Regions from separate parts of the Homo sapiens genome. Here all the other regions are linked to region 2. Evidence: promoter capture Hi-C in 16 types of primary human blood cells and fetal thymus (Javierre and others, 2016). All regions are on one chromosome and are shown on one strand. The core of a region is centred on a gene start or on the middle of the fragment in contact, and the rest is flanking DNA. Distances in the headings are between cores, read along the strand shown. Region 1 overlaps UIMC1 (ubiquitin interaction motif containing 1). Region 2 holds the start of SLC34A1 (solute carrier family 34 member 1). Region 3 has its middle 14 kb from the start of FGFR4.

Region 1 (4,887 bases), core at 220-2,719, 480 kb before region 2:
ATAATCATCAACGACAATGAGGAGCCCTTCTCTGAAAAGCTCCTCCTGGCCGACCCCAGCTGAGTGTGGTCTGCTTATTGGTTCCGTATTATGATGCATGTTCTTGTATCACTGCATTTATATCTGTTTATTAAAGGCATCTGTTTATGTGTTCTTCTTCCCCATTGTACTATGGGCTCCCAGAGAATGTTTCTTATTCACCCGTGCAGCCTCAGACCTCAGTTCTTTATCTGGCAAGGAACAAGTATCAATTAATTTTTGTTAAATTGAAGAGCCCTCCCACAATCTCAATAGTCCACGGCTGGCCAAGCATGATGGCTCACGCCTGTAATCCCAACACTTTGGGAAGCCGAGGTGGACGGATCACTTGAGGTCAGGAATTCATGATCAGCCTGGCCAATACAGTGAAACCCCGTCTCTACTAAAAATTAAAAAAATTAGCCGGGCGTGGTGGTGTGCACCTGTAATCCCAGCTACTCGGGAGGCTGAGGCAAGAGAATTGCTCGAACCTGGGAGGCAGGGTAAGTTGCAGTGAGCCGAGATCACGCCACTGTACTCCAGCCTGGGTGACAGAGCAAGACTGTCTCAAAAAAAAAAAAAAAAAAAAAAAAAGTCCAGGGCTTTTGAAACTGAGAGGAAGCAAGCAAGCTCTTACTGTCTTCCTGGTGCATATGGTTTCAGCAGTCTTTCCACTAGTCCATCTTTCCACTGACAACTACAACCCTCTCATCCACTTACTACCTGCCTTCCCCTCCCCAAATTCCCATCTGCTAACAACCTAAGGCCAAAGCTACCCTGATTCACAGGCAAAAATGAGCTCATCCAAACCTGAAATTTCCCTTGAGTCATTAGTTTTGTGACTGAAATGAGAAGTAGGAAGTAGTGTGCTATAGTACAGAAAGCTTCAGCTCTGGGGTCAGGCAGACCTGGTTTCAAAATCCCATCTCATTACCAACTGAAAGACCTTAGACAAATTTCTTATTCCTCTGAGCCTCGGTTTTCCTTGTATAAAACTTGGAGACTGATGTCTTCATAGGATTTGCTTTAGGTTAGGTAAACCCAGAGGCAGACCTAATTTGAATGCAAATAACTTTATTTGGGAAGTGATCCAGGACAGGGCCAGAATCAGGGCAATGCAAATGATATGCCTAGGGTACAGAATGTAAAGAGACCCTCTCAGGTTCATACGGGTGCCAACCTTGCACTTAGATGAACCCAAGAATAAAGGCTCATCACCCTAGTCCCAGTCCTGATCAGGAAAATACAGAAGAGGAGCTGGAAGCCAGGTAGGAAGAGAAAGAAGCCAAGGAAGTGTACGTTAATTGTTACTGGGAGCTTAGAGAGGTTCACTCCCACAGGGAACCCTGAGAAATAGGTAGAATGTGCCTTAGAGTTGTCCCTCACTGAGTGAGGAAGCTGGGGTATCTATCCTCCCACTTCCACTGGCTGAGAGCTGTCCCAGGGGCACTAACTCCCTGGTACTCTCAGCTTGTGCCAACACAAACCAAGAGAAGTCCTCAGGCAGAGTCTCAGGTACTTGCAACAGGACTCTGTGGGTATACAGCAGAATGGCGAATGCCTGGGGGAAATGGGCGAGGCACAACCTCTGCTGGGGCTGCTGTAAGGACTAAATGAAAAAGCACAACTACAGCGCCTAACAAAGAGAAGTCCCCCTCTATCTCTTCCAATTTACGGCAATAGCTTGTGAAGTTTATGGAGCTTCCCAGCTCTCCGTGAGTTGGCAGCATCAGCAGAACAGCTATTTCTCATCTTTCAGAAGTAAAAGAAATCCAGGGGCCCTAGGAGAACTCTAGATGCCTGGGACCCAAGTTTCCTGTGGAAGCCTGATGGTTGATGGAGCCCGAGTAGTCCCTCCTGAGTACACATTCCTCTGAAAACTATCTCCTCTTGCATCTGCACCCGTCCCCCATCCCTCCACCCCTCAGTGCAACATCATTTGTGACACATAGACTAGCATCACATTAATAACTGCTGCCACTAACTCATTCTTCTATGTGATGACATTGTGCTGGATCAAAGCTTTATCCACATTATGGTAATCCTTAGAACCCTGTTAGTATGATCTTTTCCCATTTTATGGACAAGAAAGCCAGGTCTCAGAGAGGTTAACTTTTATCAGAAGCAGGGTGCAGATGTAGGCTGATCTCACACATTTTATACTTTGTCTCTTCACTCTTTCACTAATGCTCCTCTCACAGGATCACAGCATGGGGAGAATAAGACTGTGGGCAAACAAGACGGTTGTGAGGAGGCGATGGGGGAAGTGGGTAGCTGTTCTTCCCTTGACTCCCCATTAGCTAATAATTAAGCCTGTGGTTCCTGGTCTGGCTGATCCATACCCTCCTGCTGCTGACTCATGTTTTAGGGAAACTGCTCAATTTTAAGCTAAATAATTCACTTTCCAGAAGTACCCTTTCCCTTTTCTTATCTTCAGGCAAACAGATACACACACTGTCCCCTGTTTATACAGCGCTACCTCCAATAAATTGCCATTTAATGAAAGAGAAAACAAGCGAGAGTTAAGCTTATGGGACATAACTGATAAACTACTTTTCACTAGAAGAAAAACAGGAAAATAATCAATACTGGAGTCAAAATATAGCATTTTCTTCAGGAATGAAGAGTAGGGGCACTGTGGTTCCACTGCCATGGACAAAAAGTGGCTTATTTGTTACTCTAAGCCTTTGCTTCCTCATCTGGAAATTGAGATGATAATACCTATACCCCATAGGGTTGCTATGAGGATTAAATGAAGGCCACATACATTGCCTGGACCGTAGTAGTTGCTCAAAAAATAACAGCTATTTCTTATGTGCTGCTAGCCACTAGGTCAGTGCCATCCAACAGCAAGACATTATCTATGGAAGGAAAAGACAGTGAGACTGCCATCTTGCCTTCTTCTAACTCAAAAGGTTGTGTGCAAAGGGACCTAGGCAGGAACAAGGCCTTAATGTTTGTGCTGTCTTCCATCCCAGCTATCTGCTAACTCCCCAGTCTAACACATACCTCGTTTTCATGTTAAAAGAAAAGATAACTTTGGACAAAATCAGAAGTTAGGAGAGTCTTGAGTGTGCCTGTTTATCCTGTCCCAAGATCCTTTCCTGGTCAACAGCCACCTCCCCCAGTTTTTCATTACAACTTCAAATCAGTTTTGGCCAAAACTAGCATTCTTCACATCCTTGTTTGGTCATCTCCTTCAGGTAGCTCCTTCTGCCAATTGACATCCTCTCATCTTCAGAGTCTGCACATGGCATGCACCGAGAACAGACCACATCTCTGTTCTGCACTGGAAGCTCCTAGGCAACACGGTGAGGAATGTGCGCTATGTTAGTAATGTTACCAAAACAGAAGCCATGTCCTGTTGCTGCTAACCTTTGGCATCAAGAGACCCAATCTTGATTTGAACAGATGAATATGCCTGGCATCCCCACTGGTTAATCTATTTAGAAAAAATAATTGCATAGGCATCTAATAACAGAGTGTTCACTTGCACATTCCTGGGAAGAATGGCAGGACACATCCTTCAAATGTTCTATGCTCAGGCTGAGAATTCCACTGTGTGAGTACAAGATGAAGGGACAGGTCACTGAATGGTAGGGATAGCAGAATAGGTAGTGGGAGTCAATGCCCCTGGCACCTCCCAGAATTATGTCAGAAACAGTCAAGGGAGTAACCAATGTTCGGAATTGTGCAGTACACATTAAGTGAATATATACATGGTATGTCAAGGATCAGTAATGGCATTCATTCAGCATGTGATTTATGAGTCTAATAAACTACCTCTACAATGAAAGTATCCCCACCCCAAACCCTGCAACATGAAGGAAAAAAAAATTAAAATTTCCATCTATTGAAATAAGATTTCGTACAAACATAAATATATTTAAATTTTTTAACTGTAAGTAAATTCAAACAAACTGTTATAAAACAGAATACACAGTTGTCTGCATAGATCATAAAAAACATAAAAACCAGAATGCTGGGTAGGTGCTGGTGGTGAAAACTGCAGGGCTAAAACTTGCTCAACAATGAACTAGGGACCACTATGGCTTAATGAACATGGCCCACCCCTCCTACTAATGGTTTTGTCAACTTTTGGACCCTAGAAATTCAGAATTTTCTCCTTCTTCCTCTGCCAGCTTTGGTCCGTGTCCGACTACCTGGCTGGACAGTAACTTGCTTTTTAAAGTCCACTAAGCAATCTGTGGCTTCTGAAATGGAAACAAAAGACTTGACGGGAGATTCATTTAAGTCACGACGTGTGAAAGAACTCTGCATCTCTCTGCTGCAGCCTGCCTCTTCCATCCCTGGTGAAGGCACCCTAGAGAGAAGGAAAAAAATTCAGATTCAATATACACCTACTAAGCATCAAGGACATGCTATGCACTGTATCAGGGGATTTTACATATCAGGGGATTATTAGTACAAATAATCTTTGTAATAATCCCACCACATATCATCACTCTGTTTTCACAGATGAGGTCACTGGGTAAATCATATACTACTTAAAGCTGGCCATTGAGAGAATGAGAACTGAGATCCAAATTCCCAAGCTGCTTGAGAATCCAGGTCAGAAAACCAGGGTTGGATGGGGATAGAGAGGTACAGAAGAATAAGACATAACTTTCACTCTGTTTGTTTTAACACAATGAATGAATTGAGTTATCCAATCTTTAGCTAAATGGGGAGCACAGAGTCATACTGAGAGAGAGGTCATAATAGTTCCACAGTGATTTCTACTGCAACAGTCTGAGTATCACACTACACACAGAACACAGGACAAGGCCTGCACTTTTCAGAAATGCTGACAGCCACAATTCAGTGCACAATCCAATTCACCTGAAGGCTCCTGTTTCTGAAGACTTG
Region 2 (4,470 bases), core at 500-2,999:
GTGCCGCTCACCAAGATCAGGAAGAAGGAGGAGGCCCAGGTTTGGGGTGAGAAGCACAGTGCGTGCTTCTGGCTTGCAGAGCCAACTGCTCGTGCCAGAGGCCGCTCAGAAAGCCTGAGCAGACGGAGCTTGGCACCTTCCCTCCAAAACAGCTCCTCCTGCTGGGTTCCTTTCTCAACGCGAGACACCCCCAACCAGGCAGGCTCTCAGCCCAGAAAAGGTCTGGGGAGGCCATGGCCAGAGCCCAGGTGCACAGACAAGGTGGGACTCACCACCCAGGGGGACACACAGACTCTGTCACTGGCCAGGGAGGAGGCAGGCAGTAGGCAGGGAGGTGCTGAAATGGCAGAGAGGCTGGCAAGAGATACGTTGGTGCTGGAATGGAGCTGCCTTCTCTGCTGCTTGTATGAGTCCCAACAGCAGCTCTGGTCAGATCCAGCATTTTCTCACTTTCACTAGGGCTGTAGCCCCAAAATAAATCTTTAGAAGTGGTGGCTGTGTAAATCAGCAGCATTTTGGAATTATATCTCTTGATGGATTTGATCGATAGCTAACTGCCTCCCCCACTAAACCCAGAGCTCCGTGACAGCAGGGAAGGCAAACTTCAAAAATATCAAAAAGCACAACCTTATTAAAAAGGAGAAACACCCCCAGTTCACCAGGAGCACCTTGGATTCAGCTGCTCCTGCCAAGGGTCTGAACTGCACGGGGGAATGGAGAGAAACAGGTCACGTGGGCCGGGGTCTCTGGGCCCGCTGTGGGGGTGTCAGTTTGCTCATAGGTGGAGACACTCGATGTGACATTAACAGCACCTTCAAGCCCAAGGACCCAGAGATTCTGACACAAGAACTGAGAACTGATTGCATTTCCGTGACTCAGCGACACCCTCCTACCTGGGCATGAACCCAGCCCTAGCCAAAGATCCAGAGACCCGACTCCCATCTATTTCCTTTTCCTCTCTCCCTCCCCGTCACCAATTCTACTGGTCAGATGTCCCTGGGATGCACCTGTCCTCCCCAGCCCCTCCGTTCCCATCGGAGTTCAGGCCTCATCATCTCCTGCCTGGACCATTAGCCTCTTAACTGGCCCCTCCGCTTCCAGGCTCCCTTCCATATATCCGGGTTCCACCCCGGGGGCCATTCTAAAAGGCAGATCAGGCCCATCCCAGTCTGGCCAGCGGCTCCACATTCACTCAGACTCACATCCTGGACCCATGGTCGGGCATTAGAGACCTGCCACGATTCAACATTCCACGGCCTTTCCAGCTTAGGTCCTCATCTCACACTCCCTCTCCTCTGAGCTCCCCCTGGGAGACTTACAGACACCCCGACGCTTGGCAAGGCCATAGGATGTTTTTGTTTGGTTTGGTTTGGTTTTTCTGAGACAGTCTCACTCTGTCACCCAGGCTGGAGTGCAGTGGCACGATCTTGGCTCACTGCAACCTCCGAAGGCCATAGGATGTTTGGGTCATTCCCTGGGGAGTCCTGTCAGGCCAGGAACGAGGGGACCCTGGGAACAAGGTGCTGAGTGGCATCAGGGTCTCTGCCTGCAGGCGGGGGATGTGTCTGGGTCGTGGTTGATGGGAAGAACCTGACCATAGATTCCCCATGCAGAGCTGACGATTAGCAATTAACTGGGAGGAATCTCAGGGGTGAGGTTAATTGGGGGACAGAGGGAGGGCAGCTAGGGTTCCAGGGACTTTGCCCTTGACCCAAGAGTATAAAGAGGAGGGTCTCAGTTCTCCTCAGGGTCCTGGAGGCTTCATTGAGCTGCTGAGCAGAAGCTGAAACACAGAATTCTAAGGTGAGCCCAGGACCCTCACATCCCAACCCCACCCCCAGCTCTGAGTAGGAAACAGCCCAGCACCCCAGCCCCTTCATCTGTGTCCTATCTGCGCCCACCCCCACCGCGCCCCATATAACATGTCAGTCCAGCCAATCGCGGTGGCTCCCACCTGTAATCCCAGCACTTTGGGAAGCCGAGTGGGCGGATCACCTGAGGTCGAGTTTGCACTAAAAATACAAAAAATTAGCCAGGTGTGGTGGCAGGCACCTGTAATCCCAGCTACTTGGGAGGCTGAGGCAGGAGAATCGCTTGAACCCACGAGGCAGAGGTTGCAGTGAGCCAAGATTGTGCCACTGCACTCCAGCCTGGGCGGTAAGAGTGAAACTCCATCTCAAAAAAAAAAAAAAAAAGGACTCCTGCTCCTTCAGGACTTGAATTCAACTCTTCACACCCCTACAACAGCCAAGGACGCTGGGACAATGCGGGGAGTGCTGAGGCAGATCAGGGCACTCCACCCCAATAGCCAAGACTCCTGGGGCAGTGCGGGGACAAGGGGGGGCTGAGGCAAGCCTGTCAGTGTTTGTTCATTGCCCCTTGAGGGGGTGGATGGGGAAAGGAATTCATTGTGAGGGGAACCCAGGAACTCGGGATCCGGCCCAGGGGATCTCCGTGTGTGCCCAGCTGACCCCATGAGAAGGCAGGTGTCTGCAGCTCCTCCTTGCTCTCCAGGTGGGCAAAACTGAAGCCCGGCCCAGCCCCAGCCCACACCTGCAGCCACTGCCAACACCACGTATTCCCTGGCCCCCTCCAGCCCCAAACAGGCTGGGCGTCCTCAGTTCTCAGTGTCTTTTATCAATGCTATATCCAAGCCTCTGGTTCGGAGCCTGGGCTAGAGCTCAATAATACTCATTGAATGAGTGAATGGTGAATGAATGATCACCTCACCACCACCACACACACCCCTCCGAGACTCACATGCAGGTGCCCAGCACAGATGTGCACATGTGAGTCTGCATGTGAGTCTCGGAGGGCTGTGGTGGTGATGATGGAGGGTGTGGTTTGCTGGGTGTGTGTTTGTGCGTGTGAGTCTCGGAGGGGTGTGTGTGTGTGGTGAGGATGGAGGGTGTGCTTTGCTAGGTGTGTATTTGGAATCATGCGCCATGGGGGTTTGTGCAGGTGAGGGTGTGTGGGCATGAGTGTCCCGGACACAGCTATTGTCATTCAGCGTTGCTGAGACCCACTGACCTGCAGACCTCATAGTGGGTGCCCAGGATGTTGTCCTACGGAGAGAGGCTGGGGTCCCCTGCTGTCTCCCCACTCCCAGTCCGTGGGGGGCATGTGATGCGAGGGACGGCCTTTGCCTACGTGCCCAGCCCTCAGGGTAAGTGCTGCTCCCACACCCTGGACCCTGGTTGCCCACGGTTGCCCACATCCCGGATGAGGCCACTTCCCCCGCCTGTTCCTCCCCGCCTCCCCACTTTGGGGCCCTGGGGCTCCTGACCAGGCTCCCTCCCTAGTCCTACACAGGATCCCGGGGACCTCTGCCTATGCCTTCCCCAGCCTGGGCCCTGTGGCCCTTGCTGAGCACACCTGCCCCTGTGGGGAGGTCCTGGAGCGCCATGAACCACTGCCTGCCAAGCTGGCCCTGGAGGAGGAGCAGAAGCCAGGTGGGCCTGGGCTGGGGGTGGCAGAGGCGGCAGCAGTCCCTGCCCTGGCCTCTGCCCACTATGCTCATGGCTTCCCCCATCCAGAGTCCAGGCTGGTCCCCAAGCTGCGCCAGGCTGGCGCCATGCTGCTCAAGGTGCCACTGATGCTCACCTTCCTCTACCTCTTCGTCTGCTCCCTGGACATGCTCAGCTCGGCCTTCCAGCTGGCTGGAGGTAGGGCCCGGGTGGAGGAGACCTGGGAGGGGTTCCTGAAGGGCCTTGGACAACGCTGGCTCATGCTCCCCAGGGAAGGTGGCTGGTGACATCTTCAAGGATAACGCCATCCTGTCCAACCCGGTGGCCGGGCTGGTGGTGGGGATCCTGGTGACCGTGCTGGTGCAGAGCTCCAGCACCTCCACATCCATCATCGTCAGCATGGTCTCCTCTGGCTGTGAGTTGGCCCACCAGGGTGGGGAAGAGCTTGGAGGGGCACCCCAGGAGCTGGGAAGGGTGGCAAATGGGGAGCGTGACCCCAGTAAGGCTGGCCTCCATTCAGCTTGACTCCTGTATCAGCCAGGGACATGAGAGGAGCCCAACTGTAGCTGTATGTGACCCAGATGATTTATGGCAAGGAACTGGCTTCCCCGATGGTAGTTTGTCTGGGCAAGTCAGGAATCCGTAGGCCAGGGCATTGGAAGGGCAGGCGGGAACTCTCAGGTGGGCGCCGACACTGCAGTCCAGACAGGGCAGCGTTTCTCCTTTCTCAGGGAAGCCTCAGTTCTGCTTGAGGCCTTTCATTCTATTGGATTAGGCTGACCCAGGTTACCAAGGATAATCTCCTTTTCTTAAAGTCAGCTGACTGTAGACGTGAATTGCATCTACAAAACACCTTACAGAACACCCAGGCTAGTGTTGGGTTGAATAACTGGGTACCACAGCCTAGCTAAGTTGACACATAAAACTAACCATCACTGGCCGGGCGCAGTGGCTCATGCCTGTAATCCCAGCACTTTGGGAGGCTGAGGGGGGCAGATCACGA
Region 3 (4,827 bases), core at 1,449-3,948, 310 kb before region 2:
ACCCACAATACAGCAGGCAAGCATATGAGGGAGCCCCTGCTCATGGCTCCAGTGCCTAGGGAGGGTCTCAGAGAGGCATCAGCTCTGGAGAGGCAGTCTAGCGTAGTGGCGAAAACTCAGGTTCTGGGAAGCAAGCAGCTAAGGTTCAGATCCCAGCTCTGCCATCGCAAAGCTGCCTCGGGGTGGAACATTAGTACCTACCTCACAGGGTGATCATGAGAATTAAAAGAATAGGTGGATATGAAATAATAGTGCCTTACACATGATAAATGCTATATAAATGATAGCTGCTGCTCTTTCTATTGTTGACCTGAAGTAAGCCCTGAGTCCCCCTGGAGCGGGGGTAAGGCCACAAGCAGATGGCATCTGGCATAGCCCCATGTAATAAGATTCAGTAATCCGGTCTGACTGAGGCGGGGGGAAAAGTAGCATAGTGGCTAGAAGTGATTCTTTACTGGGGCCCAGCGAAAAGTCACCCTCCACTACTGGGGAGCCCCTGCTTATCCCAGGCCCAAGGCTCTTTGGCCAGTGACACTACTGAGGTGTCACACCTGAGGGGAAGAAATGGAATCATGCATGAAATGGAACCAAGAGGAAGTGGAAGCATACTCTTAGCCCAGAGCTAGATGCAAAGCAGCTGTTTGAATATAACAACCCACCAGTGCAGACACAGATCTAGACATGTACCTGTATAGCAGCCAATGAGGGGTGGCATGAGGGACAAGGGCCTGGGATTCAGGAGCCCTAAGTGTTGGTCTGAGCACTGCCACCAGCTATATGTGACCTGAGGCCTTGTGAAGTGGAAGTTAGAAGAAATCACAGTTCCCAGCTCAAATCCTGAAGAAGTAGCAATGAACAGGTAGAGTTTCCTCCCAGAGCCCTAAGCCAGGTGTGGTGCACGTGCCTGCAATCCCATCTGCTCGGGAGGCTGAGGCAGGAGGATCGCTTGAGCCCAGGAGTTCAAATCCAGCCTGGGCAACATAATGGGAGCCTCTTAAAAAAAAAAAAAAGAAAGAAAGAAAAAAGGGGCCAGGCGCCAGGCGCGGTGGCTCACGCCTGTAATCCCAGCACTTTGGGAGGCTGAGGTGGGCGGATCACAAGGTTAGGAGATCGAGACCATCCTGGCTAACACGGTGAAACCCCATCTCTACTAAAAATACAAAAAATTAGCTGGTCGTAGTGGCGGGTGCCTGTAGTCCCAGCTACCGGGAGGCTGAGGCAGGAGAATGGCATGAACCCGGGAGGCGGAGCTTGCAGTGAGCTGAGATCGTGCCACTGCACTCCAGCCTGGGCGACAGAGCGAGACTCTGTCTCAAAAAAAAAAAAAGAAGAAGAAGAAGAAAGCCCTTCCTTCCCTCACAGCAGTCCCTGCCAGATGAGCTGTCCCCACCCCCAAACCAGATGCTCTGATGAGCAGTCACTAGTGTAAAATACAATAGGAAGAACACTTTCTCCCTCTGACCATCCATCCACCTAACCTCACCTCTCTGCCCTGTGCAAAGCCCTGTTACAGAGACAGGGCAGACCCGTCCCCGGCCTGTCTCTCCCAAGCTTACTGTTCATATATGCTGCTTCATCTGTCTAGGAATATCAGAACGCAGTTCTGTAAATGTTCAACTCTTCAGTGCAATGACCCCATTAGCCACTAGGTGGAGTCAGCTTCTTTTTTCTAGCAAGGTAGACCAGCCCTGGGACTTTACTGTTTGATTTAATGGGAAGAGAACAGGGTGACTTCACGAGCCCCTGTATATGCTATTTCAGTTAACCCTCAGGACAACTGGCAAAGACTTGATTTCACAGGAGAAAGTCAGGGACAAAGTCTTGCAGAGCTTACACAACCAAGAAGTAGCCTTGGAGAGAGATTTGATCTTAGCACTTCTGCTCATTCCCAAGGCCGATTTCCCCTTCCCTCAGGACATTTCCCTCAGGAGGCCCTCTCTGTTTGAGGGCTGTAACTTAGTCACCTGTCTAGAAGTACACCTGATGTCAGGCCAGCTCCACAGCCCTTCTTTTCCTTTTCTCCTTTGGGTGACAAACCTGCTCCATTCTCAGATCCTGTGGTTCCGAGGGACTGGCCCTGCTCTCTGATTCCAGGAGTGAGCCTGTGACCCGACTGAGTAATCACAGTCATAGTCTTCAGCTGTTAGTGTCCAGCATGTAAGGACAGCCTGCTTCAGAACTAAGCCAACACAGAGGAGGCCGGGCTCGGTGGCTCACACCTGTAACCCCAGTACTTTGGGAGGCCAAAGCAGGCAGATTACTTGAAGTCAGGAGTTCAAGGCCAGCTGGCCAACATGATGAAACCCTGTCTCTACTAAAAATACAAAAATTAGTCAGGCGTGGTGGCGCACGTCTGTAGTCCCAGCTACTCAGGAGGCTGAGGCAGGAGTATTGCTTGAACCCGTGAGGCGGAGGTTGCAGTGAGCCGAGATCACACCACTGTACTCCAGATAAGGAGAGACTCATTTCTGATGACTACCTGGATCCAGCTATGCCTGAAGCTAATATCCCCCAGGACTTTTTAGTTATGACTTTTCTTTAAGTCAGTTGAGTTTCTATAACTTGCAACCAAGATTTCTGCCTAATACTTGCTCCAGCTCCCCTTGTCAACCTGGGGACCTCCACTCATCCAGAGATCACTGGCCCCCAAGGCCAAGTTGGCTGCCCTTTGTGTTCCCAGATGCCCTGTGTTCCCCTCTAGCATAGCCCTTAATATGCTGTGTTACGATGATCTAATTCCCTGTCTCTTCTTTTAGACTAGAAACTGCTTGAGGGCAGGAATTGGGTCTTATGATACTGCATCCCTGGTCCCTAGCATAGGACTGTGCTTATGTTTTAATAACTGCTTGGTGATTGAATACATTAATGAATAAATGAATAAAAATGGGTATGGTCTGGTAGGGACCATTGCTGGGATTTCACAGGAAAGACATTTATTTTGTTTGTTTTTTGAAACAGCGTCTCACTCTGTCACACAGGCTGGAATGCAGTGGTGCAAACACAGCTCATTGCAGCCTCGACCTCACTGACTCAAGTGATCCTCCCACCTCAGCCTCCCGAGTAGCTGGGACTACAGGCGCACACCACCACACCCAGCTAATTATCTTATTTTTTGTAGACACAAGGTCCCACTGTGTTGCCCAGGCTGGTCTTGAACTCCTGAGCTCAAACGATCCTCCCACCTCGGCCTACCAGAGTGCTGGGATTGCAGACGTGAGCCACCGCACCTGGCCGGAAAGACTTATTGAGGGAGATGATCCTCTAGTGGTCATGAAGGTCAAAGGAGCCAGGTTGCTGGGGTGGGAGGAGGCTTAGTGAAAGGAACTAGAAGAGGCGAGTTGTGGAACACAGTTGATTGTTTCAATAATGGCCTCCCATGAATCATTGCCTCCCTGTGCCTGTGTCCTTTTGCAATGTGACTTTATCATTGCTCCCATCAAGATCGGGCGGGCGGGGGAGGGGGGGGGTCCATTTCCCAGTCTCTTGAATCTGAACTAGTCTTGTGAGTTGCTTTGATCAGAGAATTCAGTAACATGACTGTACGACTTCCAAGGTTAGGACTTAAGTGCTCATGCAGCTTCCGTTCCTGACCCTGTGAAAGGAAGTTTGGGCTAGACCATGTGGCGACCACAGACCAGGTAGAGAGAGAAGCCAACAGCCAGCTCCATACATGTGAGGGAGGACATCCCAGACCCTCTAGCATAGCCAATCCACAGCATAAGCAGAACTGCCACCTGAGCCCAGCTAATCACAGAATTGTGAGAAATAATACATTGTTTTAAATAATTAAGTTTGGGAACAGTTTGTGCAGTAAAGGCTCACAGAATCACTAGGTATAATAATCAGAAGCTTCCTAGTGTCTGTTTACCCTTCTTCCTATAATAAGCTTTTCTTTGAAAAACCCCACCCTCAGCTTATGTAGTCCGGGTGGGGAAGACCTCCACTCTCCTGGCTTTTGCCAGAACAGTTGAGAAGTTGCCAAGTGGGAATGTCTCGAGCCCAGAGCTGTTAGTGGCCTTCTTTGTCACTTCTTAGGGAGCACCTGTCATAGAGAAGAAGACAGAAGAGAGAATGAGTTTTGACCATACTGTTGGGAACCAGGATCAAGCTGTTTCTGGAGCCTGATTCACACCAGGACTTACAGTCATGCTCCTGTAGTCCCAGCTACTCAGGAGACTAAGGCAGGAGAATTTCTTAGGCCCAGGAGTTCACATCCAGCCTGGGCAGCACAACAGACCTCATCTCTTTAAAAAGTGCATGAGCCAGTACATTCACTATTTTGTGTAAGCAGGTTTGAATTTGAGTTTCTGTGTCTTGCAACTGAATGAAAACGTTCGCTGAGAGCCAGAAAAATTGATAGAGGCTGAGCAGCTCCAGGGCAGAGGGCAGTTAGGTCAGACAGAGGAGGGATTCCTGGCCGGGCAAGTTGGCTCACACCTGTAATCCCAGCACTTTGGGAGGCCGAGGCGGGCGGATCACGAGGTCAGGAGAACGAGACCATCCTGGCTAACACGGTGAAACCCGTCTCTACTAAAAATACAAAAATTTAGCCGGGCATGGTGGTGGGCATCTGTAGTCCCAGCTACTCGGGAGGCTGAGGCAGGTGAATGGCATGAACCCAGGAGGCGAAGCTTGCAGTGAGCCGAGATCGCGCCAGTGCACTCCAACCTGGGCGACAGAGCAAGACTCCCTCCGTCTCAAAAAAAAAAGAATTTTTTTTAAATAAAAATAAAATATATCTACATTTTGGCCGGGCATGGTGGCTCACGCCTGTAATCCCAGCATTTTGGGAGGCCAAAGCAGGTGGATCATGAGATCAGGAGTTCA

Evidence for each region. The method cuts DNA at HindIII sites, captures the fragments that hold promoters and counts their contacts. A CHiCAGO score of 5 or more calls a contact.
Region 1: a fragment that was not itself captured here is called in contact with the fragment with the promoter of SLC34A1 in region 2 in 1 of 17 cell types (monocytes); the score reaches 5.5 in monocytes.
Region 3: a contact is called between a fragment that was not itself captured here and the fragment with the promoter of SLC34A1 in region 2, in 1 of 17 cell types (endothelial precursors). The highest score is 6.0, in endothelial precursors.

The regions. Positions count from the first base shown.
Region 1 is chr5:176,901,151-176,906,037 of GRCh38, forward strand. It overlaps UIMC1 (ubiquitin interaction motif containing 1), which reads right to left. Exons shown (of 15, transcript NM_001199298.2): 14 at 4,861-4,887; 15 at 3,856-4,342. The coding sequence ends at 4,132. Among named protein-coding and RNA genes, the nearest start is that of HK3, 4.2 kb to the left of the region's middle. The HindIII fragment of the contact is 1,138 bases long and covers 901-2,038 here.
Region 2 is chr5:177,382,685-177,387,154 of GRCh38, forward strand. SLC34A1 (solute carrier family 34 member 1) reads left to right here and starts at 1,750. Exons shown (of 13, transcript NM_003052.5): 1 at 1,750-1,803; 2 at 3,011-3,166; 3 at 3,303-3,452; 4 at 3,537-3,665; 5 at 3,739-3,882. The coding sequence starts at 3,058. The HindIII fragment of the contact is 19,795 bases long and covers 1-4,470 here.
Region 3 is chr5:177,070,371-177,075,197 of GRCh38, forward strand. It overlaps a transcript of ZNF346 not described here. Among named protein-coding and RNA genes, the nearest start is that of FGFR4, 14 kb to the right of the region's middle. The HindIII fragment of the contact is 2,298 bases long and covers 1,550-3,847 here.